Linked DNA regions of Homo sapiens: regions 1, 3, 4 and 5 are each linked to region 2. The links are contacts of gene promoters, found by promoter capture Hi-C in human tissues and cell types (Jung and others, 2019). All regions are on one chromosome and are shown on one strand. Each heading gives the region's core, a stretch centred on a gene start or on the middle of the fragment in contact. The rest is flanking DNA. Distances are from core to core; before and after follow the strand shown. Region 1 has its middle 110 kb from the start of UBE2K. Region 2 holds the start of UGDH (UDP-glucose 6-dehydrogenase). Region 3 overlaps WDR19 (WD repeat domain 19). Region 4 overlaps PDS5A (PDS5 cohesin associated factor A). Region 5 overlaps WDR19 (WD repeat domain 19).

The links. The method cuts DNA at HindIII sites, captures the fragments that hold promoters and counts their contacts. A contact is called where the count stands out against the background at its distance.
Region 1: a contact is called between a fragment that was not itself captured here and the fragment with the promoter of UGDH in region 2, in 1 of the 25 tissues and cell types used here (mesenchymal stem cells).
Region 3: a contact is called between a fragment that was not itself captured here and the fragment with the promoter of UGDH in region 2, in 2 of the 25 tissues and cell types used here (bladder and stomach).
Region 4: a fragment that was not itself captured here is called in contact with the fragment with the promoter of UGDH in region 2 in 5 of the 25 tissues and cell types used here (H1 embryonic stem cells, IMR-90 fibroblasts, dorsolateral prefrontal cortex and 2 more).
Region 5: a contact is called between a fragment that was not itself captured here and the fragment with the promoter of UGDH in region 2, in 1 of the 25 tissues and cell types used here (hippocampus).

Annotation. Positions count from the first base shown.
Region 1 is chr4:39,809,470-39,812,949 of GRCh38, forward strand. No RefSeq gene overlaps it. Among named protein-coding and RNA genes, the nearest start is that of UBE2K, 110 kb to the left of the region's middle. The HindIII fragment of the contact is 6,292 bases long and covers 1-3,480 here.
Region 2 is chr4:39,525,736-39,529,355 of GRCh38, forward strand. UGDH (UDP-glucose 6-dehydrogenase) reads right to left here and starts at 1,704. Exons shown (of 12, transcript NM_003359.4): 1 at 1,548-1,704. UGDH-AS1 (UGDH antisense RNA 1) reads left to right here and starts at 2,104. Exons shown (of 5, transcript NR_047679.1): 1 at 2,104-2,603. RefSeq lists silencers at 1,419-1,598, 1,849-2,148 and an enhancer at 2,529-2,588. The HindIII fragment of the contact is 14,033 bases long and covers 1-3,620 here.
Region 3 is chr4:39,226,926-39,230,363 of GRCh38, forward strand. It overlaps WDR19 (WD repeat domain 19), which reads left to right. Exons shown (of 37, transcript NM_025132.4): 16 at 1,285-1,432; 17 at 1,561-1,765. Among named protein-coding and RNA genes, the nearest start is that of WDR19, 46 kb to the left of the region's middle. The HindIII fragment of the contact is 3,095 bases long and covers 170-3,264 here.
Region 4 is chr4:39,826,459-39,829,774 of GRCh38, forward strand. The region is part of intron 32 of PDS5A (PDS5 cohesin associated factor A); the gene reads right to left. Among named protein-coding and RNA genes, the nearest start is that of UBE2K, 130 kb to the left of the region's middle. The HindIII fragment of the contact is 5,783 bases long and covers 1-3,316 here.
Region 5 is chr4:39,194,295-39,197,520 of GRCh38, forward strand. WDR19 (WD repeat domain 19) reads left to right here. Exons shown (of 37, transcript NM_025132.4): 5 at 250-365. Among named protein-coding and RNA genes, the nearest start is that of WDR19, 13 kb to the left of the region's middle. The HindIII fragment of the contact is 4,911 bases long and covers 1-3,226 here.

The sequences.
Region 1 (3,480 bases), core at 674-3,173, 280 kb after region 2:
CTGATGTAGTTTTTTTGTTTTTGTTTTTGTTTTTGAGACGGAGTTTCACTCTGTCGCCCAGGCTGGAGCGCAGTGGTGCAATCTCAGCTCGCTGCAACCTCCGCCTCCCCGGTTCAAGTGATTCTCCTGCCTCAGCCTCCCGAGTAGCCAGCACTACAGGTGCCCACCACCACGCCCGGGTAATTTTTGTATTTTTGGTAGAGATGGAGATTTACCATGTAGTCCAGGCTGTTCTCCAATTCCTGACCTCAAGCAATCCACCCACCTTGGCCTCCCAAAGTGGTGGGATTACAGGCGTGAGCCACCTTGCCTGGCCCAGATCTAATGGTTTTATAAGGGGCTTCCCTCCCACACTTCATTGTACACTTCACCTTGCTGCCTCCATGTGAAGAAGGACATGTTTGCTTCCCCTTCCGCCATGATTCTAAGTTTCCTGAGGCCTCCCCAGCCATCCTGAACTGTGAACCTCTTTCCTTTATAAATTACCCGGTCTCCAGCAGTTCTTTATAGCAGTATGAGAAAGGAGTAGTTCGGGTGCGGTGGCTCATGCCTATAATCCCAGAACTTTGGGAGGCCAAGGCAGGTGGATCAGCTGAGGTCATAAGTTTGAGACCAGCCTGGTCAACACGGTGAAACCTCGTCTCTACTAAAAATACAAAAATTAGCTGGGCGTGGTGGCGGCTGCCTGAAATCCCAGCTACTCGGGAGGCTGAGGCAAGAGAATCGCTTGAACCCAGGTGGTGGAGCCCTGCACTCCAGCCTGGGTAATAGAGTGAGACTCTGTCTCAAAAACAAACAAACAAACAAACAAAAACGAAAACAGACTAATACCCAAAATGTATACATTAAGAAATAGTTCCCATTTCAGTAGGTGTACCTAAAAAAAAAAAAAAATTCAAAGCATGTTATTTTAAAATATGGCAACTATCTGAAGAAACAGTTAAGAAATCTTGTCAAGAGTAAGCTTTGGGACTAGAAAACACTAGGGCAGAAGACTTACTTTCATTGTAAGCCTTTTGTTTCTTTAGCCACTGTGTATTCTTTTTTAAAAATAAAAGTTGATAGTCAAAGATCTTTCGTTTTCTCTGTATTTTAATTACATTTCTCCAAGTACACATTGTGCTTCCTGTCACTGCGCATTTAAAATTACTGTTTCTCCTTTTGTAATGCGATTCTCTTCCATTTCTTCTTTTTTATTTTCGAGGTAGAGTCTTGCTCTGTTGCCCGGGCTGGAGTGCAATGGCATCATCTCAGCTCACTGCAGCCTTGACCTCCCGGGCTCGAGCGATCCTACCACCTCAGCTTCCCAAGAAGCTGGGATACAGGCACAAGCCACCACACTCAGCTAATTTTTGTAGTTTTTTTGTGGAGACTGGGTTTCACCATGCTACCCAGGCTTTCCATTTCTATAAATCGAAATCTTATCCTTTAAGGCCACCTCCAAATTCGACCGCTTCCATGAAACTTCCCAAATCTCCCACAGGACTCAATTGTTCCAGTAGTGATACATATTCCACCTTTTATATTCTTTTTTGTTGTTGTTTGTTTGTTTGAGACAGGGTTTCACTCTGTTGCCCAAGCTAGAACGCAGTGGCACACTCATGGCTCACTGCAGTCTCAACTTCCTAGTCTCAATTGATCCTCCCACCTCAGCCACCCGAGTAGCAAGGATGACAGGTGGGTGCTGGCTAATTTTTTTTTTTTTTTTTGTAAAGATAGGGGTCTCGGCCAGGTGTGGTGGCTCACGCCTGTAATCCTAGCACTTTGGGAGGCCAAGGCGGGTGGATCACAAAGTCAGGAGATCGAGATCATCCTGGCTAACACGGTGAAACCCCGTATCTACTAAAAATAAAAATAAAAATAAAAATTAGCCGGGCGTTGTGGCACGTGACTGTAGTCCCAGCTACTTGGGAGGCTGAGGCAGGAGAATCACTTGAACCCGGGAGGTGGAGGTTGCAGTGAGCCGAGATTACGTCACTGCACTCCAGCCTCAGTGAAAGATGAGACTCTGTCTCAAAAAAAAAAAAAAAAAAAAAAAAGATAGGGGTCTCACTGTGTTGCCCAGGCTGGTCTCAAACTCCTGGCCTCAAGCAATCCTCCTGCCTCGGGCTCCCAAAGTGCCAGGATTACAGGCGTGAGCCGCCATGCCCAGCCTCACCTTCTATATTTTTGTTAGCTGTCTGTTGATTGTAAACTCCTTATGCACAATATTTTTACGTCAGGGCATGTAACAAGCACTTAATTAATATCAACTTTATTAAATTTGTCATAAAAATCAAGAGGAGCAGAGGAAATGGGACTAAGGAGGGTGCCATCAGTGACATTAAGTGCATCAGAAAGGTGGAGCATATTAGAGCTAGACATTGTATGTGGCCAACGGTTTGAGCATTTTTTTTTTTTTGAGACGGAGTCTCGCACTGTTGCCCAGGCTGGAGTGCAGTGGCACAATCTCCGCTCACTGCAACCTCCACCTCCCGGGTTCAAGTGATTCTCTTGCCTCAACCTCCTGAGTAGCTGGGATTACAGGCACACACCACCATGCCCGACTAATTCTTTTGTATTTTTAGTAGAGATGGTGTTTCGCTATGTTGGCCAGGCTGGTCTCGAACTCATGACCTCAGGTGATCCACTCACTTGAGGATTGCAGGCATGAGCCACCGTGCCTGGCCTGAGCATTTTGTTAGTTGTTCTCTTCCAATCCCTGAGGAGGTTTGATCGACTGATGGGATTAACAGCTAGTGTAGAAGTTAGAGGGTGATGAGCTAAAATTTTGGGGAACAATCTGACTGTTTAAAGGGAACTACAATAATTACAAAATAGAGTCAGGTGTGAGACACTTGTGCCAGGCACATTTTGTGACAGAAGGATACAAGTCTGTAGGGAGAGAGAAATGGAAGATGTTGGAGAGATGGAAAGTTCTGTCTTTTGGTGGGAAAGGTGGGATACAGAAAATGAATGAATTCTATAATCACGGAAATATATAAAGACAGTAATAAAATGCTGTCTAATGTATTGTGATTGCTTTGAGCTATTTGGGAGGCCGAAGTGGTAGGATGGCTTGCATCCAAGAGTTTGAGACAGGCCTGGGCAACATAGTGAGACTCTGGCTCTACAAAAAATAAAAAATTAACCAGACGTGGTGCTGCTCACCCTGTTGTCCCAGCTACTCGGAGGCTGCAGTGAGCCGTGATTGTGCCACTGCACTTAGCCTGAGCAACAGAGTGAGACCCCATATGGGTGCGGGTGTCTGTGAGTGTGGGTGCGTGGTTGTGATTGTGGTGTGGGTGTCTGTGGGTATGGGTGTGAGTGTGGTTGTGATTGTGTGGGTGTGGGTGTGAGTGGTGATTGTGTGTGGGTGTGGGTGTGAGTGTGGTTGTGATTGTGTGTGGGTGTGGTTGTGATTGTGTGTGGGTGTGTGGTTGTGATTGTGTGGGTGTGGGTGTGAGTGGTTGTGATTGTGTGGGTGTGGGTGTGAGTGTG
Region 2 (3,620 bases), core at 454-2,953:
CCTGACCTCGTGATCCGCCCGTCTCGGCCTCCCAAAGTGCTGGGATTACAGGCGTGAGCCACCACGCCCGGCCCCCATTTTCTATTTCTACTTTTATGTACCCTCTGGCCCTCTATTCTGCTGTCAGAGACATAGGAGTGTTTCCTTATTAAATGGGTTATTTTGAAATGAGTTTTTACCTCTGTATTTTGGGAGAGTCACAACAAACCAAACCGTTCCAAAACTACTCTTCATGTAAAATTTCATAAATTCAAATAAACATTCCAACCCAGAAGGGGTCACTAACAAATAACAAATGCCCTACTACAATCTAAACGGAATATAATCCTTCTAGCCCCAGCTCTCTACAGCATATTTTGCATAGGTACCCAGGAGCTAACGATGGGCATTATAGTTGGATACATCAGCTTCACACATTTTAATCATTTCCAGAAATTAAACAGTAAAAGATGCCTGACCAGAGAAAAATATTTAATCAGTAAGAAAGCCGGTATTAATTTTATGTCTAAGGGTTATCATGTAAAGCTGTGGAAGTAAACAAGAAGGAAGATGGATTATGCTTATCCAGTTATAGATTTTGTTAGAAAAAGGAGTACAGCAACGGGAGAAGAAATGAGATCTTTTCAATCAGGGTTGTCTACCCCTTACCTTAAACTGGATCCTGGCCACTAATAAGCACATCTCAGAGCAGACAGTCAGCTCTTTCATTTCCAGAACCCCCCTGAAGAAAGACTACTGTTCTCCATTTCTTAAGGGATTTGAAGAAACTCAAAGGCTCACTGTGTCTTTGAGGTCTGTCGATAGACAGCTACTGCTCTGTATGCCCATGAATAGATCCCTACCAGCGAACCCCTCTTTTCTCTATACTAGAATTCCTAACCCTACTAAGTTATCTTCCTATATATTTATAGGACGTATAATTTTTCAAGATCTCACACAAACATGGTCTCCCGAGGCACCCAGGAAAGGCCTTCCCCGACATCAAACAGAGCAATTCTGTGGTGTAGGGGGCCAACAATGGATTCCAGGACATCCCGGACAGATATCACGGCAGTCTTAGTATTTTGCTCTCAAGAGGGCTTTCTGGCTTCGTTTCTCTTTGGTTTCTTAAGAGGGGCGGCATGAGAAAAGCAGGAGCCCCTCAGGTGAGCAGACTCTTAAACACAAACAAAAGACTACGACTCTGCGGCCAAAATGAGGTCCCCAACGAGAGAACCGCTTCCTGTGGTGGGCGTTCGGCTTTGGAGGCGGCAGGGAAATCTCATCCAAGTCAGGAAAGTGGGTAAAGGCAGAAAGAGAAGGGGCTGGAAGACTCACGAGTCTTGAATAAGAAGCCCAGACGACCACATCCCCAGGACAGCAGTTCCAAAATGCGGTTCCCGCCCTAAGCCCCAAAGAGACGAAGGTCGTGAGACGGGAAGCCCGGGACCCAGCGCAGCGAGCGACCGGGAGCAGCGCGCACACCCCAGCCCCGCTCCCTCCACATCCCGCCCAGACCTGGGAGCATCCCGCCCGGGCGGCGGGGCCAGCCTGGGAGCGGCGCTTACCCACTTCCCAGCAGCAAGCGCAGGGACCGCTCCTATCCCGATCGTTCGGACAGCACCTTCCTACGGGCCGCGCCGCCGCAGCTTCTCCACCCGCGCCCCGCTCGATCTGAGCTCCCTCTCGGCGCACGCCCCTCCCTCAGGCTGCCACGCGTTACACTCTGAGTCCCGGGCCTGAGCCCGTATTTAAAGGCTTTTGCCTGCGAAGGCGGAGGCTTCATTCCCCCGCAGCCAGGCCCTCCTGGATTCTGCCCTCAGCTGCTTCCTAGCTCCCCCTCCCGCTACACAAGGCCCAGGGCCAGGTCCCTATTTCCTTCACGGCTCAGGGGCGGGGAGACTGGGGCTGGTCCTGGCTGGGAGGGCCTGCCCCGCCCCTGGCCTAGCTGGGCAAATCCGCTTTGGCCAGCTCAGCGGCTCCGCCCCTACCGCGAGCGGCGCTGGGCGGGGCTGCGTGCGTGGCGTGTCCGCTGGACCAGGGGACGGGGGCGCGCCGCAGGTGTAGGAGCTTTGCGCGCCTACCTGGCGGTCGTGGGTCGAGGAGGGGTCAAGAATTGTTGTCTAGCAGCCCTCTCCCCGCTGCCCTGTCCTGGCCGAGGCAAAGGCCGCGTGCGCTCCGCGTCTGCCAGGCTTTAGGGCTGCGCGGACACTGGGTGGGTGGTGGGCCGAGGCGACCGGAAGGTCCTGGCCGCCTTTCCGGTCTCCTCAGCACCCTGGAGCGCCGCCCTCGGGTTTCGGTCTCCTGGATCTGCGGGTCGGTCTCGGCGGGCGGATTACTCCTCGCCCACAACCTCGAGGCCCCGGGGTCAACCGCGCCCTCCGGGCCGGCAACCCAGGGTTTAGTCAGATTCCTCCTGACCCACCGCTTCTGGGAAAGAGGCGCCTCCCGTCAGGAGGATGCTGAGTTCCTCATGACTGGACCAGTGAGTGTCCACTCCCTGGTCCCTGGCGAGAGAGGCGGGACCCCCACGCCCTCCTGGCGCTCTTTGCAGAGATGTTCCTCAGGCCCAATCCGGGATTTGGGATGTCTGTGCGTGCTGTGGAGCAGAGAGTTTGCAACATGTAAGTGCCGTGCGTGAGGAAGAGTAAAATTAACCTATGGAGCCTGCTCATTTTTAATGTGGAGGGCAGTTCCGTTCCTTTCTTTCGCCGCTTCGAGGTCATTTTAACACTCAAATCTAACATATAAGAAAAAAAGCCAGGCATAATCATGGCCTTTTATTTCCCTCATTAAGGATTACATCAGGTGACATAAGCCATTTTAACATACATCATGAAGAAAGTGATTAGTAATTTATAAAGGCACATTAAAATACCATATAAATTACGGTTTTCTTGATAGGATCATGATGGTGACTTTAAGAAAGTGGTTGAATGTGGATGAAACAGTTTGCTGTGGATTGTAGCACGTGTGGCAGGATATGTAGGCTTGTTGGTTGGTTGTTTTGAGACGGAGTCTCCCTCTTGTCGCCGAGGCTGGAGTGCAGTGGTGCGATCTCGGCTCACCTCAACCTCCTCCTTCCAGATTCAAACGATTCTCCTGCCTCAGCCTCCCGAGTAGCTGGGATTACAGGCGCCCACAACCATGCCCGGCTAATTTTTATATTTTTAATAGAGACCGGGTTTTGCTATGTTGACCAGGCTGGTCTCAAACTCCTGACCTCAGGTGATCCGCCCGTCTCGGCCTCCCAAAGTGCTGGGATTACAGGTGTGAGCCACTGTGCCTGGCCAGTATATGTAGGCTTTCTGCATTCTATGCAGTTCAGTTCATTCATCCAACAAATATTTAATGCCTGTTGTGTGTCAGACGTTATCCTAAAGACTGAAGATGCAAAAGGGATTAAGACTCAATTCCTTTGGCCAGGCACGGTGGTTTACGCCTGTAATCCCAGCACTTTGGGAGGCCATAGCGGGCGGATCACCTGAGGTCAGGAGTTCCAGACCAGCCTGGCCAACATGGTGAAACCCCGGCTCCACTAAAAATACAAAAAGTTAGCCGGGTGAGGCGGTGGGCACCTGTAATCCCAGCTGCTCAGGAGGCTCCCTGTTGCAGTGAGCCGAGATCACACCACTGCCCTG
Region 3 (3,438 bases), core at 467-2,966, 300 kb before region 2:
GTGTAAAAGCGTTCCTCTTTCTCCTCAGCCTTGCCAGCATCTATTGTTTCTTGACTTAATAATCGCGATTCTGACTGGTGTGCAATGGTATCTCAATATTATCATTTCAATGTGTAATTGAATATAAAAAAAGTAATGAGATATTTTACAATCTTTTTTTCATGCGAACTCTCTGTGTAGTTTACACTTAAACATATCTCAATTCGGACTTGGCACATTTCAGTGCTTAATAGGTACATCTGGCTACATGTAGATGTTATAATAGCAACTACTATGTTAAATAACACAGCTTTGTAGTATGAATTATTATTTGCAAGAATTTTATATTTCATTCTCATTTTGAGAGTAGGATGAGGCAGATATTTTTCAGTTCCCTATTCAGGATATATACAAGCCTACCTGCCTGAGTTCACAGGACTTATATGGACTGATTTTTGTAAACAGCTTATTTAGTATAATATTACAGTCAGCCCACCCTATCTGTGGGTTCCTCATCCATGGATTCAGCCAACTGTAGATCAAAAATATTCAGGGGAAAAATGGATGGTTTTGTCTGTGCTAAACCTGTGCAGAAAACTTTTGTTGTCTATATTCCCCATACAGTATGACAACTATTTACATAGCATTTATATTGTATTAGGTATTATAAGTAATCTAGAGATGATTTAAAGTATAAGGGAGGGTGTACATAGTTTATACACATATTACACCATTTTATTCAGGGATTTGGCCATCTGTGGGTTTTGCTATCCGTGGGAGATCCTGGAACCAATCCCTCATGGATGTTGAGGGATGATTGTATATTTATATTTGTTGACATGCATTTTAGAGAAGCTTTTGAAATAAAGTATCCCTAGTGTAATTTACTTCAATCATGTGAGTTAATTTGTTTCTTAATACCCACTATTATCAAATACTCAGTATTATTGAAAAATTTCTAAACACAAGTACAAGTGTGTTCGTAGTTTAAATTTCTGTCATCCTGAGCAGCTTTAATTTTTTTTCCTTAACCTGAAGCTTTGTGTCTAGACTTGTGGGTTCTCCTACAAATTTGCCAGATTTTAGATCAAACCTTGGCTTTTCCAAATAACTATAGTTTTTTCAAGCCAGACCTAGGATAGGAATGGAAAAAGAAACTTTCTTTCCTGTTGTTGTTGGAGTGATGTTAGGTTGAATATGACTCAGTAAGCTAAGCCAGCTAAGGCTGCAAACAGGCTTCTACCACGGCAAATGATAATGATTCAAGTACAGACTTGGGGCAAATCTGTAAATTTTATTTTGTAGGTCAATGACGCTACCTATGAGATTCCAGATTTTTCACCAACCATTAAAGGTGTTCTTTGGGAAAACTGGCCAATGGATAAAGGTGTATTTATTGCTTATGATGATGATAAGGTGTACACTTATGTCTTTCACAAGGACACTATACAAGGTACTAAACCCCTTTTGTGTATATTCGCTGACAGATGAATTTCCCATTGCAGTAAAATTAAAACATTCTTTCTGATGTTTGTGCTGAGTATTAGCTTTCAGCATTGCGATGTCTGTTTTATAATGTAGGAGCCAAGGTTATTTTGGCTGGTAGCACCAAAGTTCCTTTTGCTCATAAACCTTTGCTGCTATATAATGGAGAGCTGACCTGCCAAACACAGAGTGGAAAAGTAAACAACATCTACCTTAGCACCCATGGCTTTCTCAGCAACTTAAAAGATACGGGGCCTGACGAACTGAGACCAATGCTGGCACAGAATTTAATGCTAAAGAGGTAGGCTTTCACACACTTCTTTTGGAACTTCTCATTTGCTTTTGTGATTTTAAAGGTCAAATCCTATAATTATTCTATCTTATTTTATTGCTTTATTCTTTATCCTTGCAAGAATTTTTTTTTTTTTTGTAAATGTAGAAGTACAAGTGCAGTTGTGCTACATGGATATAGTGCATATGGTGAAGTCTGGGCTTTTAATGTACCCATCACCAGAATAGTGAACACTGTACCCAGTGGGTAGTATTTTATCCCTCAACCCTGTCTCACCATCCCGCCTTTTGGAGTTGCCAGTATCTATTATTCCACCTGTATGTCCATGTGTACCCATTGTTTACCTCCCACTTCTAAGTGAGAACATGCAGTTTTTGACTTTGGGGCATTTCACTTAGGATAATGACCTCGAATTCCATCCATATTGCTGCAAAAGACATGATTTCATTTTTTTAATGGCTGAGTAGTATTCCATAGTGTGTATATCTATATATACACACCACTTTTTAAAATCCAGTCATCTGTTGATGGACACTTAAGTTGATTCCATGACTTTGCTATTGTGAATAGTGCTGCAGTAAACATATGAGTGCAGGTGTCTTTTTGATAAAATGTCAAATCCTATTCAATAGATGGAGATAACAGCACTTACCTTGTTCATTTCACAGGGATATTGTGAGGCTCAGATAAGATAGTCAGCTGTTTTTATTATGAGTACTTTATTACAAGAAAAGCCCTTAAGAACAAAACGGTTTCTAAGCTTCCAGAGAGCCTAGTTATTGGGAAATCCTAATAAAATAAACCTAATTATTTCAACAATATCTTGACTTCATCATAGTGAGGTTTGATTTTGCTTTGCTTATAATTTCCTTTTACTGTTTTTTTCTCTTATCTCCTAGAGCCACCGTGAATTCCTTTGACGTTCTAATTCTTCCGAGCCTCTCTTAAATGCTGCTGTTTATTGGGGTCTCATGAGTTTCCTTCTCTTCTTACTCTAATTATTCTTCCTGAGTGAATCTCCTCTGCTTAACATGGCTCAACATACCACCCATATGAAGCTGACTCTAAAATCTGTGTCTTTATCTTAAACCTGTACTTACAACTACCTTCCAGTCATGTGTCCTTGGAAGTCCATGAGCTCTTCAAACTTGCCCTTTCTAAAACTGAACTCATCAATTTCCACAGGCCCCTATTTTCCCTCACTGTAATCACACATGCACATGCCTTAACACACATATACACCAGCTCCTTTCCTCCTCCCGTGTTCCCTCATCTTTACCCAGGCCCTCACCTGGAATAATGTGTAATGTAACTAACCACTTCCTAACTGCTCTGTCTGCCAATAGCCTTGTAACGATCTCATCTGTTCTCCACACACTTTTGAAGATGTGATTTGATCCTCTTATTTCCCTGCTCAGGATCCTTCAGTGACTTTCTATTGCCTTTACAAACAAATCCATTCCTGGGGGACCTCTATGACCTACTAGGCACTTCATGATTTAACACCAGCTCAACTGTCTCCACTCAAGTCCCTCTCTGTTCCACTGGCTGCTGAAATTGCATATATTTCATGATTCTTCCTGGAATGCCCTTTCCCTGCTCTGAATGTAGTAACCCCTCTTTCTTTACCCATCAGCGATAAGTGGAGCCATCTCCTGCTCCAGGAAGCCTTCCCCGACTTC
Region 4 (3,316 bases), core at 400-2,899, 300 kb after region 2:
AATTCATTCCACATTTTTATTTATTTATTTATTTATTTATTTATTTGAGATGGAGTCTCGCTCTGTTGCCAGGCTGGAGTGCAGTGGTGTGATCTGGGCTCACTGCAAGCTCCACCTCCCGGGTTCAAGCGATACTCCTGTCTCAGCCTCCTGAGTAGCTGGGACTACAGGTGCGTGCCACCATGCCCAGCTCATTTTTTGTATTTTTAGTAGAGACGGTGTTTCACCATGTTGGTCAGGATGGTCTTGAACTCTAGACCTCGTGGTCTGCCTGCCTCGGCCTCCCAAAGTGCTGGGATTACAGGCATGAACCACCACGCCCGGCCCATTCTACATTTTTAATCAGCCTGATCAGTAGTAAGACTGTCTCCTTTTCCACAATTTTACACCTAAAAGAGAAAGAAAGATATATTCCCAAACTCCTTTACTACATACATATTTTATAAAGGTAACAATGCTAAAAGAGCTAAGTGATTATTACAATTCATACAGAGACTATTAATTTGTTATACTATTTGAAGCAATTTTAACAATATGCTATTAAAGAATTTTTTTTTTTTTGAGGCAGAGTCTTGCTCTGTTGCCCAGGCTGGAGTGCTTGGCATGATCTCGGCTCACCACAACCTCCACCTCCCAGGTTCAAGCGATTCTCCTGCCTCGGCCTCTTGAGTAGCTGGGACTATAGGTTGCGCCCCCACGCGCAGCTAATTTTTGTATTTTTAGTAGAGATGGGGTTTCACTATGTTGGCCAGGCTGGTCTTGAACTCCTGACCTAGTGATCAGCCTGCTTTGGCCTCCAAAGTGCTGAGATTACAGGCATGAACCACTGGACCCGGCCAAAGAATTATTTACAAGCTGCCTGCTACACCTTCAGGAAGCTTCCCTTTCCTAGCCCTGAGTCCTCTGTATTTCTTGGGCTGCTCTCACAGACTTCTGAAAGACCCAGGTCACTGGAAGAGCTCCTGGACTTGATTCTATGTACCAAGATGAACTGCCATCACTGCAAGCACTTGGCTTCTGAAAAATTTCATGTTATTTTGAGAAAAATTCACTTGTTACTAAAAAAAATTCATATTGAACTAATATATAGCTGTTTAACACATGAGGATACACATTTGAGGATATATACTTAGGGGTTAATTTTGAGATACGAACCCACATGATGGGAGGAAACCTTCTCATTATACAAATGAGCACAAAAACTCAGTCAATTCTTTGCTTTAAGAAAAACAAATTCTAAGATCCTTGAACACTCCCACACTAAGCATGCTAAACAAAACATGTTAATCCAACGACTAGAAACCCACAGTCTGTTATCCTACAGATATTCTCTTTAAATTCAAATTCCCCAGAAGTCACAAATTTGGGGTTATTTTTCCATTGATGTTTATTGACAAGCTCATCTTCAAGGAAGAATTTGGCCTTAAGTGTAAGCAAAACATACTCAACAATCAGCAAATCTATTCAGAACATATTTTCAATTCACAACACCGGGAACTGTTTGCCCTCTGAATGATAGCCTTAACACAAAGAGGAAAAACAAGTGAACTAAACTACTGAAATGATCATTCCTTCATCCGAAACTCAGAGACCCAACACTAATGTCCAGCTAATACTGTTGACTGTTTCCTGACCACACTGCAAATGGCTGATTTTTACTGGTTTTATTGGGTGAACTCAAGGAATTTTTGCAAAAGGAATAACAAGTCTAAATGCAGCCCAAAACATAAACAGGAATACTTACTGAAACCCACATACATGCAAATAGCTGAGGGAATACATTTACCACAAAAATCCGATCTAAAAATTCTAACGTTACCTTTACAAGTTAAAACCTTTAGCATCAGCTCCCAGCTAAAACTGAGGCCAGGAGAATTTTGCATATCTTCCTCTCTCTGTTTTGGTGGAATAAAGTATCCTTGAACCAGTAAATAAACCCTATAGGTAGGAATCAAGCTAAAAATAATCATTACTGACCTAATGTTTTGAGTAAAAACCTAGTAAGAGGAATTCTGCGAGGGTTAGCACTTGCCACATATTAGAAGTTATGGCTGTGGTATTAAAATGGCTCTAGAAGCCTCACACATCAGAAATCTACCTAAAAGAGCTGAAGATGAAATGAAGTTAACAAACCTAAAGTGTAAACTGTAGTTGGCATATACTAGGGCCTCAAAAATGGTTTTCACTAATTAATGATAATAAAATATGATAGTAAATACCAAGTAATACAACTGCACAAGCTTTCTGGAGGTGGTGCAAGTGTAAAGTACCACTCTGGGGTGGGATTCTGTACTCAGATCGACAAAAGAGCACCTATAGATGACTGGGGTGAGGTTAAGAGGTAAGCTCTTTTGAGATATTACTGCAGAGTTGTGAACAGAGCCGAAAATGATCATCTAGGAAGTGAAAAATAAAGCAAGTGAAAGGTGTGGAGAATCATGCAAGGAAAAATAAAAGACTGATAAATTGGGCACCTGGAGTTAGAATGCAGGGCCACAGAGAAGCACAAGGGTGCCAGGCCTTCTTTATCAAATAAAACCCAGGGCTGAACTTAGTGCAGCAATCCCGATCAGACTCCACAATGCAAGGCCCCTAAGGAGAGCTGATTCTATCACCCTGTAGCTCAGCGGTGTGTTTGATTGCTCTCAGGTTTGGCACCTCTATGTCTTCTCTTACCAGTTAGTTGGTTGAAACTGTAATGATATAAAACCTTAACAGGATGATCCTCACCAGGTCTCAGGAAAATGCAGGTGGAATGTCAAATCACTCACAGGGAATACTAGCAGTTAATGAGAGCTATGTTTAGAATCTTGTAGCAAGGTGGAAGCTGCAGTTCCACATGAAATAAAAATAGTTGGCACTTTCAGGATTTTGACCATTCAACTGAAGGGCAGTCAAAACATCAGCTGAGGCCGGGCATGGTGGCTCACACCTGTAATCCCAGCACTTTGGGAGGCCGAGGTGGGTGGATCACGAGGTCAGGAGATCAGGACCAGCCTGACCAATATGGTGAAACCTCATCTCTACAAAAACACAAAAATTAGCTGGTGTGGTGGCACACACCTGTAGTTCTAGCTACTCGGGAGGCTGAAGCAGAAAAATTGCTTTAATCCAGGAGGTGGAGGTCGCAGTGAGCCAAGACTGCGCCACTACACTCCAGCCTGGGTGACAGAGTGAGACTTCATCTCCACAAAAAAAAAAAAAAATTTCCGGCCAGGCGCGGTGGCTCACGCCTGTAATCCCGGCACTTTTGGAGGCCGAGGCGGGCGGATCACAAGGTCAGGAGATCAAGACCATCCTGGCTAACACGGTGAAA
Region 5 (3,226 bases), core at 668-3,167, 330 kb before region 2:
TTGAGGTTCCATCATAACTGAAGTCTACATTCATTATACTTTTGTATTTTGAGTCTAACTGACCCTAAGATCATTCTGTAGCATCTCCAAAATATCTTTAGCATTTAGTCTTTGTCCTAAAGCATTAAGTTGTATTTTGTACTTTGGCTTCTAAGTAGATGTTAAAATTATCCAAGGAGTACTTTTTTAAAGGACTGTTTAGAGGTTATGATCGTGAATTGTTTAGTAATTTATATCTTAATGTTACAGGGATCAAATGTCTTTCCTTCTTTGGTCAAAAGTTGGAAGTTTCCTGGCTGTTGGAACTGTTAAAGGAAATTTGCTTATTTATAATCATCAGACATCTCGAAAGATTCCTGTCCTTGGTAGGTGATAGCTGGAAACACTGCTAAATATTTGAGATGCTCTACCTCAATGTAAATTCTGCCGCCTCAGGTTTCCCTGATCTTGCAATGGAAATTTTGCAGTACAAACCCCCTCCCCATGTCCCTCCGCAAGTCTTACATTTAGCTAAACATGAAGATCCCTGTTCACTGCTTACTAAGAACTTGCCAGGGTACATAGAATAGATTGAGTTAAAGTCAGGCTGTGCCTTTCGCATCAGGACATTAACAGCATGGCTTCCATTTGTCCTTTCCCACCCAGACTGTACCTCTGGACGAGGAATAGCTCATACACATATGAACACATTTTGATAATATGTGCTATTTTTGTTATTAATTTTAGTTAATTTAGTTGCATTATAATATGTGGTAATTTTAGTCCACATGGTAGATTAAAACATTTACTGCTTGAGTCCGTGGTGGCTCACGCCTGTAATCCCAGCACTTTGGGAGGCCAAGATGGGTGGATCACGAGGTCAGGAGTTCAAGACCAGCCTGGCCAAGATAGTGAAACCCCATCTCTACTAAAAATACAAAAAATTAGCCGGGCACAGTGGCAGCCGCCTGTAATCCCAGCTACTCGGGAGGCTGAGGCAGGAGAATCACTTGAACTCGGAGGGTGGATGTTGCAGTGAGCAGAGATCGCGCCACTGCACTGCAGCCTGGGTGACAGAGTGAGACTTCATCTCAAAAAAAAAAAACAAAAAAACAAACAAACAAAAAAAAACATTTACTGCTTGGATAGAAGCAAGATTTCTAATTCTGACCCCTCACCTTCTCCAAATCCTAGTTAAATCTAGATGTGGACTATGAGTTCCATTTGCCTCAGGATATGCAGCCAGAGGGTGTTTTTATGTCCCTCCTTGTTTGACCTTCTTGTTTTGGCTCTTTGATTCCCCCAACCTCTGGTCACTTGGCATCTGCCCTCTGAATAGCCAAGAAGAAACATCTATTCTTGTCAATTATTGTAACATCATTGTGATGAATGGTAGAACCTAGTGGGCTTAATTGCATCCAGGTGGCCAGGAAAAGTATAACTTACTGCTAATAAAGGAATTACACTCTGGAGATCATGGCACCCACAGATACTTGAGAAAGTGCCCTTCCATTCAAGACGATCATTTCAAATTAGTTTTACATATATGTATCTCTTTAATGTTAACATTAATTTTGGGTGCTATAGCTAAACATTAATGTCATTGAACTATTTGAAAAGTTAAACTAAATTTTTTTAAGTTACAAATATCAACTTTAAATTAGTTTGTCTATTAACTGTTATTATTGGTGTTAAGACTAACTTGATTTCTGAGCACTGGAAGCAAAAGGGCTTTGAGGTATATAAGGAGGAGGAGGAAGAAGAGATTTTCTTCTCCCTTTCTTGGGTATAGAAAGATGTCTTTGGCATCTTCCTACTTGTCATTGTATAGTCTTTTCCCCTTCCTAATGCCTGTTTCTTTGGACACCCAGTTCCATTTAACACCCAAGTCCCTTAATCTATGATCAGCAAAATCTCTGTAGCCCCAGTCTCTTCTCTGAATATTTCCTTCACTTTTGTGTTCTGGTCTCCTGATATGAAATACTGTCTATATCCTGAAAACTCCCAAATTTATATCTTTTCCACACTGTAGACTCATACCTCCAACGCTTACTCAACATCTTCAGTGAGGTGTCTAGTATACACTTCAAATTTAGTATCTCCAAAACCTTCTTGACTCACAGCTTTGCCTTCCACCATTGTTGGCATTCCATTCTTCCAAATTGTTAGGCCAATGTTTAGGGCCATCCTTGACTCTTTTCTTTCTCATACTCTCCATAACTAATTTGTCAGAAAATCTTACAGACTCAACCTCCAAATATCTCCAGAATCCAGCCGGTCTCACCATCTCTACTGCTGCCACCATGGTGTGGTCTCAGACATTTTCTACCTTAATTTCTGCAGTCTCCTCTTTACTGGCCTCTCCATTTCAACTCTTGCCCCACTCTAGAATCTTCTCAACCCAGAGGCCAGAATGAGCCCTCTGCTCAGAACTCTTCAATGGTTTCTGTCTCACCCAGGATAAAAGCAAAAGGCCTTAAAATGGCCAGAACAAATTTTCCATAATCTGGCCTTCGCAACCTCTCTGACCTCATCTCATGTTCTTCCCTCCTCATTTGTCTGCTCCAACCACATTGTCCTTGCTGAGCCTCTAACACACTAGGCAAACTCCTGCCTTGGGGTCTACTCACTTAAAGCATTCATTTAATACCTGCTTTCTGCATAGGTACTGTATTAGATTCTTTGAGGGTACGAAGAATAAAATGAATGTGGTCTCTGCTCTCAGTAACAGCTAAAATAGCTGACACTGTGATAGCATTTCATATGTACCTTGCACTTTGGTCAGTGCTTTAATTCAATTGATCCTCAACCCTATGAGAGGTCCTACTATTATTCCCAATTTATGGATGAAGTGAGTAAGGAATAGAAAGGTTGGCTGGGCATGGTGGCTCATCCCTGTAATTCCAGCATTTTGGAAGGCCGAGGCAGGCGGGTCACTTGAGGTCAGGAGTTCGAAACCAGCCAACATGGTGAAACCCCGTCTCTACAAAAAATACAAAAAAATTAACCAGGTGTGGTAGTGGGCTCCTGTAATCCCAGCTACTTGGGAGGCTGAGGCAGGAGAATTGCTTGAACCCAGGAGGCAGAAGCTGCAGTGAGCTGAGATTACACCACTGCACTCCAGCCTGGGAAACAGAGCAAGACTCTATCTCAAAAAAAAAAAAAAAAAAAAGAAAGAAAAAGAAAAGAAAAGGTTAAGTAACTTACGCAAGGTTTTTTCAGTAGGTAGTGGAGCTAAGATTCAAAG